Linked DNA regions of Homo sapiens: region 2 is linked to region 1. The links are contacts of gene promoters, found by promoter capture Hi-C in blood cells and fetal thymus (Javierre and others, 2016). All regions are on one chromosome and are shown on one strand. Each heading gives the region's core, a stretch centred on a gene start or on the middle of the fragment in contact. The rest is flanking DNA. Distances are from core to core; before and after follow the strand shown.

The links. Contacts are between HindIII fragments. The CHiCAGO score rates a contact against its expected background, and 5 or more counts as called.
Region 2: a contact is called between a fragment that was not itself captured here and the fragment with the promoter of DPYSL3 in region 1, in 1 of 17 cell types (endothelial precursors). The highest score is 5.7, in endothelial precursors.

What each region holds. Positions count from the first base shown.
Region 1 is chr5:147,508,659-147,512,467 of GRCh38, reverse strand. DPYSL3 (dihydropyrimidinase like 3) reads left to right here and starts at 2,400. Exons shown (of 14, transcript NM_001197294.2): 1 at 2,400-2,990. The coding sequence starts at 2,610. The HindIII fragment of the contact is 1,835 bases long and covers 2,117-3,809 here.
Region 2 is chr5:147,456,155-147,460,560 of GRCh38, reverse strand. All of the region lies in intron 1 of DPYSL3 (dihydropyrimidinase like 3), which reads left to right. Among named protein-coding and RNA genes, the nearest start is that of DPYSL3, 52 kb to the left of the region's middle. RefSeq lists an enhancer at 4,113-4,406. The HindIII fragment of the contact is 3,697 bases long and covers 904-4,406 here.

The DNA of each region.
Region 1 (3,809 bases), core at 1,151-3,650:
TGATCGGGCCACTGCACTCCTGCCTTTCCCATCTGTCTCAAATGGGAGATGCTGTCTCAAACAAAAAGAAATGCTAGTACCAGACAGGTAAGGTTATTAAGATTAATTAAGATACTGCCTGGATGTCCTTAGCGCAGAGCCTGAAACTAATAAAACCTGGATAACCCTTAACTGTAATTGTTCTGAAGCAGCACTCACAGGAAATTCTGAGTCCATCACCAACCAGCATTTGTTAAGAAGGAGCAGCTGCCCAAAGGAAGTCAGCTTAAGAAGTCATAAATAATTCTGATAGAGCACAGGCAGTTTAGCAAGTGGCTTTCTCTTCACTGGGGATTGGGTTGTTGTTGTTGTTGTTGTTTTGTGTGGAATTTTGCTCTGTCGCCTAGGCTTGAGCCCAGTGCCGCAATCTCTGCTCACTGCAACCTCCACCTCCTGAGTTCAAGCAATTCTCCTGCCTCAGCCTCCTCCCAAGTAGGTGGGACTACAGGCGGGTGCCACCACGCCCGGCTATTTTTTACATTTTTAGTAGAGATTGGGTTTCACCATGTTGGCCAGGCTGATCTTGAACTCCTGACCTGAGGTGATCTACCTGCTTCAGCCTCCCAAAGTGTTGGGATTACAGGTGTGAGCCACTGCGCCTGGCCAGGGGATAGGTTTAAATTGTGTCAACATACCTGTCTTTGATCTAAGTTCAGGCCAACTTCCATTCCTCAATATTTTGTGGCTGTCACAGACCTGAGACTGACATTCCAGTTTCCGGAGCCTTTGTTCCACTCCAAAATCAGAGTTCAAAGGTTAATTTCATCAAATTCTATGTGGATGCCTTCAAAGAGTATGTCTATGCGCACAAAGAAGCCGGCCATATGCTTATGAGCATTAAATGAGTTAATATATGTGAAACAATTATAATAATGACTGGCACATAGCAATAACTCCATAAACATTTTCTGGTGCTGCTGTCGTTGTTATTGTTATCCTCCATTTGTTCAAAAAGAATGTATCAAGTGCCTGTAGATGTTCTGGGCACAAGATATACAAAGGTGAACTGAACAGACCAGATCTCTGCCTTTATGGAGCTTAGCATGTATGTGTCCATACTTGGGAGGGGGAGTGTTTAGTTCACAAAATAAACAAAGTTCTGTAAGTTGAGCAGAACAGTGAACGGCTGTGCTACCTAGATGGGTGGTAATAGACTACATTCTTGGTGAGGACAGGCCGATCTCTCTTGTTCGACACTGTTGCTCCAGCATCTTGTGAAAGCCATAGTGGGTACCTGATTTATGTTGGTTGACTAAATAAATAAATGGGTGACTTTCTGAGAGGGAGCACAGTTAAATCCGGCACAACAGGTTTTGGGTTTAGGTGGTGTGTGCAGATATGATGTAAGGTATGTAGTTTGCAGGTTCTGTTTATGTGGCAGAGTCGGCGTCAGAGTATACGTGGGTGGACGTGGGGAAGAGAATGAGGTTATGAAAGCACAGATGTACATAAGTAAAGTCTGCATACATCTGAGGTAACATGAAAAGCAAAGTCTTTGGTTGTGTGATTTTTGAAGTAAATCTGGGCTTAGGTGTGAATCTAAGTGTCGGTTCCGACTGAGGTAAACCTGGACTTGTGTCAGTGTGTGAGATTAAAATCTGGGGTTTGTTGTATGAGGGACAGAGCATCAATGAAGAGTGCTTTGCAAGGCAAAACCTAAGAATGTGTGTGTGTGTGTGTGTGTGTGTGTGTGATCTGAAATGAGGCAAATTAGGGGTGGTAAAAAGCAAACTAGGATATTATATAGAAGCTAAGAAAGGGCTTATGTGAGCCAAAGGGCTTTTGTGACTCTCAATGAAGTAAGAGGGCTTCTCTCTCAGTGTGTGTTTGTGTTGTGTGTGTAAGCCAATTCAGGACTTCATGTGAGAGTGTGGGTTTGCAAGGCAGATTCTAGAACTGGGTGTAGTTATGAGTGTCATCCTAAAGATCAGGATGAGGCAAGTCCGGGGTTCCGGGTAGGATTGTGAGTCTGTCGTAAATTTGAGTTTGTATGTGTTAGTTGTAAATCAGGACTTGGCTTTGAGATGAATCCACCTGGGTCAGCTGGGTTTTTGTGCACGAGGGACGTCAGAAAGCTTTGTGTTTGTGAGGCAAACTAGGGAGTTAGTGTGGGTGAAGCAGTCAAGTGCTGGAGTGTGAACATTTCTAAGACGTCTAAATTGCGCGAAAGTGTGTGAGGCAAGGCTGTTGCGCGAGCGGGCAGTGTGCGCCTGTGTGTGCGTGTGCGCGCGCGCCAAGTTTGGTTTGTGATTGTGATGGGCACCGACGCTGCGTCAGCCCGGGAGGCCACGTTAGGGTTGGGGGTGCGTGAGGAGGTGCGGCCGGGCGAGAGGTCCAGCGAGTGAGCCAAGCGCGGCGCTACTCTGGGCCCCTGCTCCGCGCGCTAGCTGGCTGTGTGGCTCGCTGGCTCGCTAGGGACAAGCAGGAATCGGAGCAGCACTGCCGCCTCTGGCGCGAAGGCTCAGGCGCCTCCTCCCGCCACAGTCACTGTGGCTCGGCGCACGCTGCCGGCGGCTGCCCTTTCCGCCTCTGGGGAAGAAAAACCCGCGGGCCGCTTTCGTGCTTGAACCATGGCCTCGGGCCGGAGGGGCTGGGACAGCTCCCACGAAGACGATCTGCCCGTGTACCTGGCCAGGCCGGGCACCACGGACCAGGTCCCGCGGCAGAAATACGGCGGCATGTTCTGCAACGTGGAGGGCGCCTTCGAGAGCAAGACGCTGGATTTCGATGCCCTCAGCGTGGGGCAGCGGGGCGCGAAGACTCCTCGGAGCGGCCAGGGCAGCGACCGAGGATCGGGGAGTCGGCCCGGGATCGAGGGGGACACCCCGCGCAGGGGCCAAGGCCGGGAAGAGAGCAGGGAGCCCGCGCCCGCCTCCCCCGCCCCCGCCGGGGTAGAGATCCGGAGCGCCACCGGCAAAGAGGTGTTGCAGAACCTCGGCCCCAAGGACAAGGTAAGGGGGCCCCGGGTCACTTCCCTCCTTGCCTTCGTTCCTTTCTCCAGCCCTGGCCGCCATGGCCCGGGCACAACTTTCTCCAGCTCACTTTGCACGGGGCTGGGGGACAAGGAGGAGGAAAGGGTCATCCTCCACTGAGCGTAGCGCGACTTCCTAGCCCAGACCCTGGATTCGCGCGTGTCGCCACTTGCAGCATCTTCGTGCAAGCGCGGAAGGGATGCCCGGGTTCCCCTGCCTGGAGCCGCGTCCTTTGCCCCTGCCTCCTCGCCGCACTCCTGGGCCATCCGGTCTGGGTGGGTGTGTCAGCCCGGGAAGGCTTAGTGATTTCCAGCTCTTCTCTCTAGTAGCCAACAGCACAATTGTCTTGCCCCCCTCTGGCCCTAGATTAAATCTCAACCCGGGTCACCACGGCAGAGGGCAAAGTGATGCTGGGAATATGGGGGTCATCTCCATAGTGCCCGGATGAAAGTACTGGAGGGGCGGTCTCCCCTCTCAGTCTTCAAACATCAGCTCTGTCCCTGAAACTTTTGGGTGTGGAGCCTCTAGACTAAACACGCGAATCTCTCTCTATGCCTCGCTTGTGTCTTAGCACGGCATTTCACATCTGTGTTTGTAAAGAGTGTATTTGTGTACATAGCTTGGCACAAGACTGGGTATTACAGGGGTCCAGCTGCCTCTGCAAGAATAGCATTATATTTTAGAAAATAGACGAGAGTATTAAGAGTGCACATTAAACTAGCATGAGATGCAAATTCCCTGCTGCTCTTAAATGTGCCAAAGCCAATTTCTTCTGTATGTGTATTTTTGAGAAACTTA
Region 2 (4,406 bases), core at 1,503-4,002, 52 kb after region 1:
TAGTGATTACACTGGGACTGCCTGAATAATCTAGGATAATCTCCCCTTGTCAAGATCCTTAACTTAATCACAAAATCCCTTTGTCATGTAAGGTGACATCTTCATAGGTCTGGGATTAGGACATGGACCTTTTGGGGAATGGTACACACTAGACTGCCTTTTTTCCCAAACCCATGAACATATATAGCTGAAAAACCTGGGATTCCTTGCTGAAAGGTAATTCACAGCAGCAACTTTGGGGAAATAAAGTATTTTCTAAAATTTCTGAAGTTCAGATAAGTTCATCAGACTATAGTATCTCTCCCCATGATGCCTAAGGCAGAGCTGTCAAGAGTTTTTCCCCTCGTATGAATGTAACTTCACTTGTGTGTCTAACATGCTGGGCCAGAGATGAAGATCAGCATACAATAATTTGTCCTCATCTCACAACCTCATCTTTTTTTTTTTTCTGAGACGGAGTCTCGTTCTGTCGCCCAGGCTGGAGTGCAGTGGCTCGATCCTGGCTCACTGTAAGCTCTGCCTCCTGGGTTCACACCATTCTCCTGCCTCAGCCTCCCAACGTAGCTGGGATAACAGGCGCCCACCACCACACCTGGCTAATTTTTTGTATTTTGAGTAGAGACTGGGTTTCACCATGTTAGCCAGGATGGTCTTGATCTGCTGACCTCATGACCCGCCCACCTCTGCCTCCCAAAGTGCTGGCATTACAGGCGTGAGCCACAGCACCCGGCCTCTCGCAACCTGATCTTCTAACTCTAGCCTTTGGCTTTGATATGAGTTGCCATCAGAGCTGGATGGAGCAGGTCAGAATCCTTCAAACTCAATGACTACTGAAGAAAAGAATGAGAAACTCTGTCTAGAGAGACGTAGGATTGCATACCTTTGCTTAAGCTAGTGTAAGCTTGATTTTGGAATCAGCCAGTGGGAATACTTTTCTGTGGCTGTAATTTTTTTTTTTTTGGTTTATGTGTATCCGAGGTTAGTTTGTTTACCAGTTTATTTCTGTATTCAATGTGTAGACATCTAATAATAGCAGGTGAATCATCTCTTTGGTTTTCATTCTGTAACACTGGAGTTACATGACTGAGATTTCCTTTGTTTGGTTGTAGGTAAAAATTAATGGACCCAAATGCTTAATTAAGGCAGCTCTAAGATTAAATGTTTATTTATGTAATATAAGAACAGCCTATATATTTCACATAGGCCTAGTATATACATTTTCCCCTTCAAAACTCTTCTATATTTATTTTAGAACTTTTTTTTCTGAATTTTTCAAATCAGGACCAAGGGGCAAATGTTTTCTCATATTAAGACAGCAACATATAAATGTATTTTTAGAAAGTAAAAAATATTTTTAATGGTCAAAACTAGGTAAATGGCTAGGTCCTTATTTTAAATGTTTTGGAGATTAAAGGACAGAGAATATTCTGGACTTTCTCCCCTGCCTGTTCAGTCAATCTCCCCCTTTTCCCATTGATGCGACTCCACTCCAAGCACTGTAAAAGAGCTGGGGGCTATAAAGATAAATAAGACATAGTTCCTGGCATAAATAAGTTTAGCAAAAAAAAAAAAAAAATCAAAATATTAAAAATAGTGTTAGGAGTAGCTGCCATTTAATTAACTTGACTTAAGAGCTTTATGAGAATAATCTTATTTAATCTTCAGTATGTTCACTGTCCTTTATTCCCCTATACACTGTGTTCTCCCTGCTCTCTTAAGGAGCTTAGATCCCTTGCTTCATCCTCAGTTCCCTTGAGTTTTTCTCTCCCTTCTCAGCACTCATCTTAAAGAGCCCACATTCAATTCCACACCCTACCTGCTCCTTGCCTGCACATATGCTACTGTAAGTGGCTGGAGGAACATCCACAACCAGGCTTACTGGTCTCTCTTTAAATTTATGGTCACCGTTTGAAGGGAATCTTTACTGCTGCTATTACCGGAAAGGGGTCTCGATCCAGACCCTAAGAGAGGGTTCTTGGATCTTGTGCAAGAAAGAATTCAGGGTGAGTCCATAGAGTAATGAAAGCAAGTGTATTAAGAAAGTAAAGGAACAAAAGAATGGCTGCTCCATAAACAGAGCAGCCCCGAGGATCTGCTGGTTGCCTGTTTTTATGATTCTTTCTTGATGATATGCTAAACAAGGGGTGGATTATTCATGCCTCCCCTTTTTAGACCATCTAGGGTAACTTCCGACGTTGCCATGGTATTTGTAAACTGTCATGGCGCTGGTGGGAGTGTAGCAGTGAGGACGACCAAAGGTCACTCTTGTCGCCATCTTGGTTTTGGTGGGATTTAGCCAGCTTCTTTAGTGCAACCTGTTTTATCAGGAAGGTCTTTATGACCTGTATCTTGTGCCGACCTCCTCTCTCATCCTGTGACTTAGAATGCCTTAACCATCTGGGAATGCAGCCCAGTAGGTCTCAGGTCTCGGCCTCATTTTACACAGCTCCTATTCAAGATGGAGTTGCTCTGGTTAACACGCCTCTGACACTGCCAGATAATCATACCATATTTTCCTAGTTCCTTTACTGTCCTGGAAAATGATTTTCATATGAACTCCTCCTCCCTCTCCCAATACCTTCTTTCCTAGATGGTCTTAGCTGATGGCAGAAAAAATAGATGGAGTCAGAAGACAAATTCCATGAAGTCCTTCCCGGAAATATACCCAGCTACTGGACTCTGTGCAAAGATATTCTCCTCTTCAGTGACTGTGGAGGAACCAGTCTTGTTTCTAGCTAAGGGCAAGCCCTCCACTCAAACAATAAATGTCACCTGAGTTGCCTATTCTGGAACTTTCATAGAGCCATTGACCTACTTCTCTCCTGCCTCATAAAGTTTCCTCTCCTGACTGAATCAGCCTCATTGGCATAAAACTAATCAGTGCCCAGGTACCAATTCTACTCTACTGAGCCTTTCTTTGGCCCATATGTTGCTCTGAAATTTTTGGACTGTATCATATTAGCAAAGTGATTCTTCGCCATCTTAATTCATCTGCTCTGAAATCTAGAATCAGGAAACTCTAAAAATGCATAGAGAAGCAAATATAGATACTGTAAAATCTACATTCTAACTACATGCCCTTTAGTTCCAGAAAAGTTCTTCTTCACCTATTTAATCTTTCTCCAGATGCAATTTTAAAAAATTCTTACATTCACTCCCCTAATAATTATTGAGCAATTTCTATGGACAAGGCTCTATTTCAGGCATTCAGTAAATAAACAGACACATCACATACCCTCAAATAGCTTATATTCTGGTGATGGGGAGAATATTCAATAATAAATTAATATGTCATGTGGTAAAAAGTATTATGAAGATAAAGCAGGAAAGGGGGCTAGCAAGTGACAGGTGGTGTAATAAGGATATGCGTTATTATTATATAATAAGAAGAATACGAAGTAAACTCCATGATATTTGGGACTTATTATTCACCTCCATTGCACTAACACTGATAAAAATAATGGCACATAGTAAGCACAAGGTAAATATTGTGTGAATATTTTGAGAATGAATGAATGAATGAATGAATGAATGAGTGATGGTGAGGAAGAGAACCCAGTTAGGAGGTTACAATAATTCAGGTGATAGCCAAATGATGGCTAAACACAGGAAGAAACTTTGCAAATCATGAGAGGAGACCATAGTCTGGATACATTTAAAAGATAGAACTGGCTGGGTGCGGTGGTTCATGCCTGTAATCCCAGCACTTTGGGAGGCTGAGGCAAGCAGATCACATGAGGTCAGGAGTTCGAGACCAGCATGGCCAACATGGTGAAACCCCCTCTCTACTAAAAGTACAAAAATTAGCCAGGTGTGGTGGCAGACACCTGTAATGCCAGCTACTCAGGAGGATGAGGCGGGAGAATTGCTTAAACCTGGGAGGCGGAGGTTGCTGTGAGCCGAGATCACCCCACTGCACTCCAGCCTGGGCAACAAGAGCGAGACTCTGTCTCAAAAAAAAAAAAAAAAAAAAAAAAAATAGAATCAGTAGCATTTGCTGAAAGATTGTCTGTGGAGAGTAGGGGCATGATTGAAGGAGAGAAATCAAGGATGGTGCCAAACCTTTCGCCTGAGCAACTGGAATGGAGTACCCATTGATTTAAGTGTGGAAATCTGTGGTGTGGCAGGTGTGGTAGCCAAAATTAAGTTTCTTTGGGACTGTAAATCAAGTCTATTTCTACATCTTCCTCTCCCTCTTTCAGTTTACTGAGATACCTAAAGCCAAGCACTGCTGTGTATCCAAGGAAAACCATTCAGAGTCATTCTACTGTGGAAAACATCCATACTGGTTCCATTCTTCTCTCTCTTGGCCAGACACAGAGGCATCCTGTGTTGATGGCTGCCTTTCTTATGGCCAAGGAAGGCTTTTTCCTTCAAATTCATCTTAGAGGCTTTATTTTGGTTCA